Linked DNA regions of Homo sapiens: regions 2 and 3 are each linked to region 1. Evidence: promoter capture Hi-C in human tissues and cell types (Jung and others, 2019). All regions are on one chromosome and are shown on one strand. The core of a region is centred on a gene start or on the middle of the fragment in contact, and the rest is flanking DNA. Distances in the headings are between cores, read along the strand shown.

Evidence for each region. Contacts are between HindIII fragments. The study calls those that stand out against the background at their distance.
Region 2: a fragment that was not itself captured here is called in contact with the fragment with the promoter of PTPN13 in region 1 in 1 of the 25 tissues and cell types used here (hippocampus).
Region 3: a fragment that was not itself captured here is called in contact with the fragment with the promoter of PTPN13 in region 1 in 1 of the 25 tissues and cell types used here (hippocampus).

What each region holds. Positions count from the first base shown.
Region 1 is chr4:86,592,709-86,595,815 of GRCh38, reverse strand. PTPN13 (protein tyrosine phosphatase non-receptor type 13) reads right to left here and starts at 1,501. Exons shown (of 48, transcript NM_080683.3): 1 at 1,027-1,501. It also overlaps a transcript of MAPK10 not described here. RefSeq lists an enhancer at 1,264-1,850. The HindIII fragment of the contact is 10,688 bases long and covers 1-3,107 here.
Region 2 is chr4:87,077,767-87,080,873 of GRCh38, reverse strand. The region is part of intron 4 of AFF1 (ALF transcription elongation factor 1); the gene reads right to left. Among named protein-coding and RNA genes, the nearest start is that of KLHL8, 140 kb to the left of the region's middle. The HindIII fragment of the contact is 9,071 bases long and covers 1-3,107 here.
Region 3 is chr4:87,014,020-87,017,126 of GRCh38, reverse strand. The region is part of intron 2 of AFF1 (ALF transcription elongation factor 1); the gene reads right to left. Among named protein-coding and RNA genes, the nearest start is that of AFF1, 81 kb to the right of the region's middle. The HindIII fragment of the contact is 6,307 bases long and covers 1-3,107 here.

The DNA of each region.
Region 1 (3,107 bases), core at 252-2,751:
TTAAAATCTTAAAATTTATAATTAGTTACCAGCGCCCTTCATCCCACAGATCAGGTGTCCTACATTTTGTTCAGGTCCTGCCTTGAAAACAAACCCGATTGCCCCATTTTCTGCGAGGGAGCTCAGCTCCAGGCAGCTCCCTATGAAGTCACCGCGTTTGTTGTTTCAAAGATGCAATTAAATGAAAATGACACAAGGCTGTCGAACAGATTAGTTGGAAGTGTGCGGTGGTGTCGATCATATACGTGTATGGCCAATGAAAACTGTATTGCTGTAAATCTCTTAGTGATATTTCTCCCCATCCTCCTCTCTCCATTATATTCACAACAGAAGGAAATTAAACTTTGTAAGAATTTTCTTGACTTTGGTTTAACTTTAGCTTCCCAGCTGTCTGCTCTTACAGTATCACGTAATGAGCAAAGCGGTGGGGCTAGGGGGCCGGAGGGTAGAGTGTTAACTTTAGCAAGCAGAAGAAAAGCAATAAAAGACCTTGCATCAGACAGTGTCTCTCCCTCTGCCCCCTCTTCCTCTGCTTCCCCGCCATCCCACCCCCTTCTCGAGCCCTTACACACACATTCTTCTGGGCGGCCTCTAACCACACCATCTCCACAATCATTTGCAGAAATTAGAAACAGACTCCGGGAGCCCTTCCCTTAAGCACGCACAGAGCGGAGCTGTGCAAGCACGACGGGGCAATGTCACTCCCTATTACCCCACAATCTCTTACTCCCCCTGTGGGTTTCATTCCCGAGAATCCGGCTTTCTTCCGCAGAGGAGATGGATCTACCTAATTAGCAATGGAGTTTCATCTCATTCTTCCCCACTCCAGTCACCCCACCCCCACTCTAACGTACAAAAACACCCACCACCAAAACCAAAGAAAAGTTCCTTCTACCAGGGCAACCGAGGAGTTGGGTTTAGGGACTGGAGCGAAAGCAGAGAGAGGAGGAAGAGAACGAGCGCAATGTACTTTGTTTTGCACTTCTGCACATGCAGCGCAGAGCCCAGGGCGGCTCTCGTCCTTACCGGCTGGTCCCGAGACCGGGTCCTGCTACTGGAGCGCCGGGCGAGGGCTGCAGGGACGCGGCGTCGGGGCGGGCCGCCGGCAGCCGCCGCGGGCGCCGAGAGCCACCACCACTTCTCCCACAAGCGGCTGCGGGCGTGGGCTGAAGGAGCTGTAGAAGGAGCCTGGGGAGGGGGAGAAGAGGAGCAGCATCTCCTCCTCCTCCTCCTCGCCTCGGAAACGCTCCCCAGCGGCGATCCCGGCCGACTGCCTGACCCCCGAGCGCTCAACGCACCCCCGCCGCCCTACTGTGCTCGACGCCTCTCCAAGAGCTTCGCCAAAACCTTCTGGCGCGGGCGGCTCAACTCCTGTAGGCGACTCTGACCGCTGCCGAGGCGGACCGGGGAGCTACGGAGCACGGCTCGCCAGCACGACGGTCTCCAGGGGCCGTGAGCATGGTGTGTCACCCTCGCCTCAGCGTGGCCGCTGGAGCTACTCGCACCACTGGGGCTCCACCTCGGGCAGCCGCGCCGGCTCCGCCCCCCCGGTCCTGTCACTCAACCATTCCCCGGCACTGGGAGGACCGCAGATCTCCCACCCCGAGCTCCCCTCGACCTCATTGGCCCGCCTGGCATCCAGCTCCACCTCCTCCCTAGGGACGAGGTCGCCAGGGAGACCAGCGCCCCGGTTGCCATGACAACCAGTGCCTTGGGCCTGGCTTTTCGCGTTCTTCGGACTAGCCAGAGGCTCAGGTTGGTGACCGAGCGGCAGAGTTCCTAGCGCCTGCAGTGTGGTGAACTCCAACTTTTAGGCCAAGTTGAAAATGCAGCCGACGACCCCCACACTTCTAACTTCAGAATCAAAACTATGACCCTAGGGAGTGAGGAGGAGAGTGAAAAATGCGTAAGTGCTGGCTCCTCCCTTACTCTTCGCTGCCTCTCAGCCTTGTTTCTATATTCTCACGGGGCGCTTTGGTCTTTGAAAGGAAGAGGAGAATGGGGGAGAGGAAGAGCATGGCTTTGCCAGCTCCTTGCAGCAATATAGCAACTTAGAAATGGCGGGGTCAACGAAAAAAGCCCGGTGAGTTTTCCCACGGTTGTAAAGCTATCTTCAAAAGTGTGGTGACAGCACAACGCCAAATGCCCTAGGGAAAACTGAAATTCTCATATTTTTGAAAAAAGTTTGTAAATACTTGCCTTGTTATTTTATCTATGAGACTAAAATAATCCCGAAGTTTGAAAATTTAAGGAAAAGGTTTAACATAGTCGATAACCTCCCACTTTTCTATATACACTGAAATTTGGCCAAGGTATATCCAGACAGCTGTACCCCTCCTTGCTGCAAGCCGAAATATTTGAGTTTCAATAGTTAAACAAGAGAGTCTTGCTGAATTCATGAACAAATAATATCCTGTGATTTGAGTTTTGAAAGTTTTGGGTTATTCTCAGAGGTATAAGGTAAACTGGTCCACTCTGGAAAGGGTACCTGAAGATAAATTTAGTCTGAGACCCTTAATGTTGAGCCCTAGGTAAATCTGAATTTCATGGCTGGCTCCAAAGTGGAGAGATCTGAGGCTTATTTGGCTTCCCCAAAAAAAGTCAAAGCAGCAATCCTAGGTTCCCTAGCCCCTGAGGCTGCCATACATGTATGATGAATGAGGGAATTAATAGTAATGATTTATCTTTGGCGAGCACTTGAGTTTTCATTATATCATTTACTAAATGAATAACTATGATAGATATCTTCAGTCAAATATGCCTTACAAGTATGCATTGAATGTGATTACTCATAGGGCTAAACACAACGGAAAATACACAGCAGGATTTTAAGCTAAGTCCCCGCTCCCAAGGAGCTAACCTGGAGCCTAAGAAAGAAAACTAGCACTCTTGAAACAATTTGAGAACAATTATAGCTAAAATGTGCAGCCAAACTTTGAGTAGGTAGCAGCTAAGAGAAAGTTTGCTATGTAAAATGGGCTGGATTCCTCAGTTTATGGAAGAGGGGAATTTACACTGGGCTTTGATGAATGCAGCAAAGATGAGGAAAGTCAGTTGAGGGGAACAACAAAAACTAAACAGCAGCAGCAGGGATAAGTGGTGAAAGT
Region 2 (3,107 bases), core at 162-2,661, 490 kb before region 1:
TCACATCTTCACTCTTCTCGCCACCCTAATTAGAGACACTTAAACTACAAGACAGATCTTTTGGATTTGTTTACAGGGAAAGATCTACAAGGACAGGCTGCCTCGTCTCATAAAGTGCAACTTGGCACCTCCAAGCATGCCACTGGAAGGAGGTTTTCCAAAAGGGGAGCAGTTAAACCGTTACATCCTAATCCCCTAATCCCCTTCTTTTACAGAGATGGGGTCTTGCTATGGTGCCCAGGCTGGCCTGGGCTCAAGTCATCCTCCTACCTCAGCCTTCAGAGAGTAGCTGGAACTACAGGTGTGTGACACTGCACCTGGCTCTTAACCCCTTTCCTAAAATCCACTCTCCCAATAGGGTCTCCAGCCAAATACTGCTACTCCTACTAAAAGGAGCCAGACTCTCCCTTTAACACCATGGTCAAAGAATAAACAATTGGTCCTGGCCAGCTCTCTCTAAGCCACAACTGAGATAAGGCTGAAGACATTCAATGTACAACGTCCTTAAAGAACACAAAATGACAAAAAGCAACAATAAACATTTCTATGATAGTTGCATGAATCAAGAAAATCTAGTTTGTAAGTCCTTCTCTGGCTAGCTCTTTCCTCAATGGTATAGACACTGACTTTAACATGACCACAAAACACTGCCTTTTCCCACCCTTGATATCTATTAATAGGTTCCTAGAGGGCACGAGCTCTCCCCTTCTGCCTATCTAGAGCCATCTCACACATCTGGCTTCCTGTATGTAGACCAACCTCCCAGCAGAGACCACACTTTCCTCCTGGGATATGGCCTTAACAAGCAGCCATATTTAATTTTTAAAAAAATGATAGCAGCTACTTATTGAATGCATTTTGTACTTCACGTTGCATTAAACTCTTTCTATGTTATTATCACCTCAATTTGGTACCATCAATTGTACGACGCACCATTATTAGCTTGGGAGGTAGGGGGACTACACTAAATGTACCCATCAACTGTAAGATACATCCCTATTACATAAACTTAAAAATGCCTGAGGGAATTCTGTATAAAGCTCTATTTAATTCTCACATCAACCTTTGTGGTAGGTATTATGCCAGTTTTTAAAACGAGGAGACATGCTTTTGGAGTCCACGATGAGGTATTTACAAATAAAATAATTTTAAAAATAAAACGAGGAGACTGAATCCTAGAGAAATTAAGTTGTCTATGCAAGGACACACAAAAGCTCTGAAGCAGCTGAGCTGGCTCAGAATACTGTTATACCAGTTTTCTAAAAACCTCAACACTGCTGCAAGAAACAAATATATTAGCATTTTAGGAGGGTGTGTGATTCCAGTTGTCCTATGCATAACCTAAAACATTTTTTCAAGAGCTACGTTTTTCCTTTGCTTCTACAAAGAAGCATTTTGGTATTCACATTTAACTGCCTCTTCCTACTACCAGTGCTTCGGACCAGAAAAGGCAGCAATGCTGGCCGTGGCCTGATTTCTCACTCCTCCTGGAATGACATTGTGTAACTGTAAGGAAACGCACTGATACCAAAATAAAATATGTGAGTGAATGTCTTCTAAGCATGACAGTTTGTTTTAATAAGCTAAAAAGAGCTGGCTGAAGAAACATGCCACTGAGACTGGGAGGCTCTTGCAATATTGTGTTTTAAGTCTCTCAAGTTTCAACAGAGCGGCATTTTTATAACAATGCTATTCTCAAAAAGGCTTACTTATCACTAACCAGGAAATAGAGAGAGCACAAAGGCAATGTGCTGACGAGGGAAGCCAAAAGATCTTGGATTCTAGATCTGGCTCTGCTGAAGACTGGCGCTGAATCTTGGATAAGATTCATCCTCTTTGGGACTATTTCCTCATTGTGAGAAGGTATAGTATTACCAAACCTAACCACTTCTCAGGGTTGGTATGAAGGTCAAATATGTTTTCATATTAAAACATATCTAATAAAACACACTTTCAAAACCATCAAAAGGCACTGATATATGGAATAACAGGCGGTGCCAACATTATCAAGGCATTCTTTAACAGCATGACAGCTTAAAAAAAAAATCCCAATAGGTTATCTATCCAAAGTTTAATTTTTAAGAGAGTAAAATAAATGTCCAAGCTATTTTTCTTCAAATGTGTCACCACCTTTTGGATTACTGTTCAGTCTTCACTATTTGCTGCTCATCTACCCCCAACTCGCTAGTTAGATAAGTCACACTTTTCTTGCCCCGATCTGGAGCCCTCTTCTCTCTTCCATCTGTGTCAGGGATAATTCCTACTAAAGCTTCAGGTTGCAGATGAAAGACATCTTTTGGAAAACATCCCTGATGCTCCCTTACTCCCAAAACTGTCCAGGTTCTCTTGCAGATGCTCCCGTAACTATCCGTACATTCTCTGTTATTGCATCCTCTCTACTCCCTCTAGATAATATGTTCCATGGAAGTTAGGGCCAGAACCCTCACTGAATCACAGGGTGCCAGCCACACAGAGGCAACCCCATAAACAATGGCTGGCATGTTTTCAGTCCCGGAACTCAGAATTTGAAACTAAGTTTCTCTTATGGCTTTAGACACTTAAGAAGATGCAGGCTGCCTGAATTATAAAGCAACACCTTAATTAACAAACTAAACTACATGTAAATAAACATAAAAGAGACAAAAAGATAATTGTTTTGCATTGTTTTCTCCCTGGAAACATTACAACTACTGAGAAACTACTTTTCACACGTAGATTGGCAAACAGCCACAAGATTAACAATACTCCATCTATGAGATAGACATGGGGAAATAGGCACTCAAATCCCATGATTGGTAGGAGGATTAAGTGCTACAACCTTTAAGGACATTAATTTGGCAATAGTCAGCAAATTCTAATTACACAGACACTTCTCTAACCTTTAGCACTGCCTCCTACATGTACAAAAAAAATATGTACAAAGTTATTCACTTCAGCCTAGTTTGCAAATAGCAAGATACTGGAAACAATCTAAATGTGTATCTACAGGTAACTGACTATGAAAACTATGGTACATGCCACCTAGAAAGAAATAAATGCTACGCAACTACAACAAAGAATAAGGATGCTCTTTTTGCATTGATTTGGGGTAATCTCCAAGATACATT
Region 3 (3,107 bases), core at 608-3,107, 420 kb before region 1:
CAACCAAAAAAAAAAAAAAAAAAAACACATATATATACACATACACACACACACATATATATATGTCCAAAGTCTTGTATGTAAATGTTCACAGCAACATTATTCACAATTTTTTAAAAAATTGGGACAACCTGTCCATCACATCTATTAACAGAATACTATTCAGTAATAAAAGGATAGAACCACTGATACATGGTACACCACAGATGAACCTCAAAAAATTATTCAAGTATGGCCAGAATGTGCTGAGGCTGGTAAATTTAAAATATATATACATATGCAAGTAAAGAGAGTCAGATGCAAGAAACCATCATACTCCATTTATGATTCCACTATGTGAAATGCCCAGAAAAGGCATATTTACAGAGACAGAAAGTAGGTTATGGTGGTGGGGCTGGGGACCGGGATTAACTGTAAATGGGCAGGAGGGATCTTACCAGGTATGGGATAAAATGTTCTAAAACTGGTCGCTCCATTCAGTAAAGTAACTAAACATTACTGAGTTGTCACTTGACATGAGTGAATTTTATGATATATAAAATAGACTTCAATAAAATCACTTTTTTTTTTTTTTTGAGACAGAGTCTGACTCTGTCACCCAGGCTGGAGTGCAGTGGCGCAATCTCCGCTCACTGCAAGCTCCGCCCTCCCAGGTTTATGCCATTCTCCTGCCTCAGTCTCCCGAGTAGCTGGGACTACAGGCGCCCGCCACCACGTCTGGCTAATTTTTTTGTATTTTCAGTAGAGACGGGGTTTCACTGTGTTAGTCAGGATGGTCTTGATCTCCTGACCTCGAATAAAATCACTTTTACAAAAACTTGGGCTGGGAAGAAATACCCATAAAATGAGATATAACAAAAGATATAAAAGATCTGGGTGACAAGGAACGTACCTCGATTCAATTTAACTATTCCCCTCTTCCCTCTTTCCCCACAAAAGGTCATTTACACCAAGCTACCAAAAGATCGCCCAGGCTGGAGTGCAACGGCATGATCTTGGCTAACTGCAACCTCCACCTCCCGAGTTCAAGCAATTCTCCTGCCTCAGCCTCCCGAGTAGCTGGGATTACAGGCACCTGCCACTACGCCCAGCTAATGTTTGTATTTTTAGTAGAGACGAGGTTTCACCATGTTGACCAGGCTGCTCTCAAACTCCTGACCTCAGGTGATCCGCCTGCCTGGGCCTCCCAGAGTGCTGGGATTACAGGCATGAGCGACCACGCCCGACTTCTTCATTCTTTAAAACACTCTAAGATCATGGATAATACCAATACTTTAAGGATGTCAACACAGAATACGAGTGACCTCAGAGAGAAAACGAAGTTTTATGCTAGGCTTATCATAAACTGTCAAGAATTTTTATAAAGCCTACAAATTTAAACTCAGAATTAAGTAAACCTAATGATTTTTACTTTACCCTTAAAGAAACATGACTGCTAAAATAAGAAAGAAATGAAGGTGTTTTTAAGAGGAGGCCCCTCCCTGCCCTAAGGGTAAGAACAAATAAAAAACTCACACCATCAGCAGTGACAGAATTATCAAATTCAATCTAACTGCCAACCTAGGACTTTTCATCTTCTGGGCATAGTTCCCATTTAAAAACAAAAACTAAGTTCCAGTGGCACTTTGAATTTTACTAAAACCAAGTCACAAGATAAGCAGACAATCTGAACAACATTAATAATTCTTTCCAATATTTTTAGGTTGCAAAACCTCAATTATGTATTAAGGTAATACACTAGGTTTCATTTTATCCTTTTGCTATTCTAATGCCAGTAAATGTTACTGCCTAATTTTTCCCCTGTGGTACAAAGTTTATTTTTTACACACTTTTTTAAATGGAGAGTTAGCACCGTCTTAACTCTAAAAGGAGGCTGGAGGGGAGAGGGAGACACAGACTGTAAATGAGTAACAGGAAAACATTCCTATAGCTGTAATTGCTAGGTCAAAATTACCTGAAAAAATATAAAAGGACAGAGCTTTAGCTTACTTTATACCAATGACTATCCTTTCAGCAAATAAACAACAACTAAAACCCAGCAATATTAACTCAATAACACGTTCTGTTTTCCTTTAAGGAAAAATTTTCTTAAACCATAATATCATGGACTCAAACTTTTATCAAAGCTCAAAGCTACCAACTTACTAAATAGGCCATCTTAGAAATGTCTAAGGTAGACAGTTTGTCAATTGAGACAAAATTTCTGCAAAGCTAGGGAGGAAACAGGTTTCATAGTTTTGTACAAAACAATGAGAACTAATTAATTTTATACCACTTTCCATAAATTCAAGTCCAGAGTAAATCAGATACACCTGTATTTTTAAAGTAACCAGAATGGGAGAAGTGGGGGAGAAGCAATTTAACAAGTTATCCAGACTTACATTATCCAGGATGAAAGTCACGTGATAATCTTGGGTCTGTCTTGACCACAAAAACATATGCACCAAATCAAAATTTAATTACACTGTATAACATAGTTTAAGTTGTGCTTCATATTTTATTGACTGCTTTGCTTCTGACAGGACAGTTTCCTGAAGGAAAGTTCCAAAAATTGAAAAGTTACAACACCCACATACCAAAGACTGTTTCCTGAATTTTGTTACAGGAAGTGACATCTGCTATAATTTTAACATTTACTTCCCAGTAGGAGTTCCATTTAAAATGTCTTGTTGAACATTATTTGTTCAGCAGTACCCCTAGGCAAAGCTTTTCTTAAAAAACAAAACTTTCATTTCGGTTTCACAAAGTTTGGACAAAACTGACCAATTCACACCATTTTAACTTTTCCCTGGGAACAAAAACAACTGCCACCTGGTAAACTGGGCTGTGTGTGGTAGAGAGAGAGATACTTAGCAGTTAACTCTAACTGGGGAGGGAGCCCACAACGCATGGAAAAAAGTAAATTAAATACCCTGCTCCTTGAGAAGAAACAATTCTTGGGAAGGTGCTGTATGATCAAACACTGGGAATTGCTTCTTGGTATCTTTTAATTTTTTTTTTAACACAGACGCATTTGGATATTTCAACCAACAGTTTGTAATATAAGGATAAATTTTATGGACGTAGATATCCACCTTCTCTACCAACCTCCAGTCTGTTTCAATAGG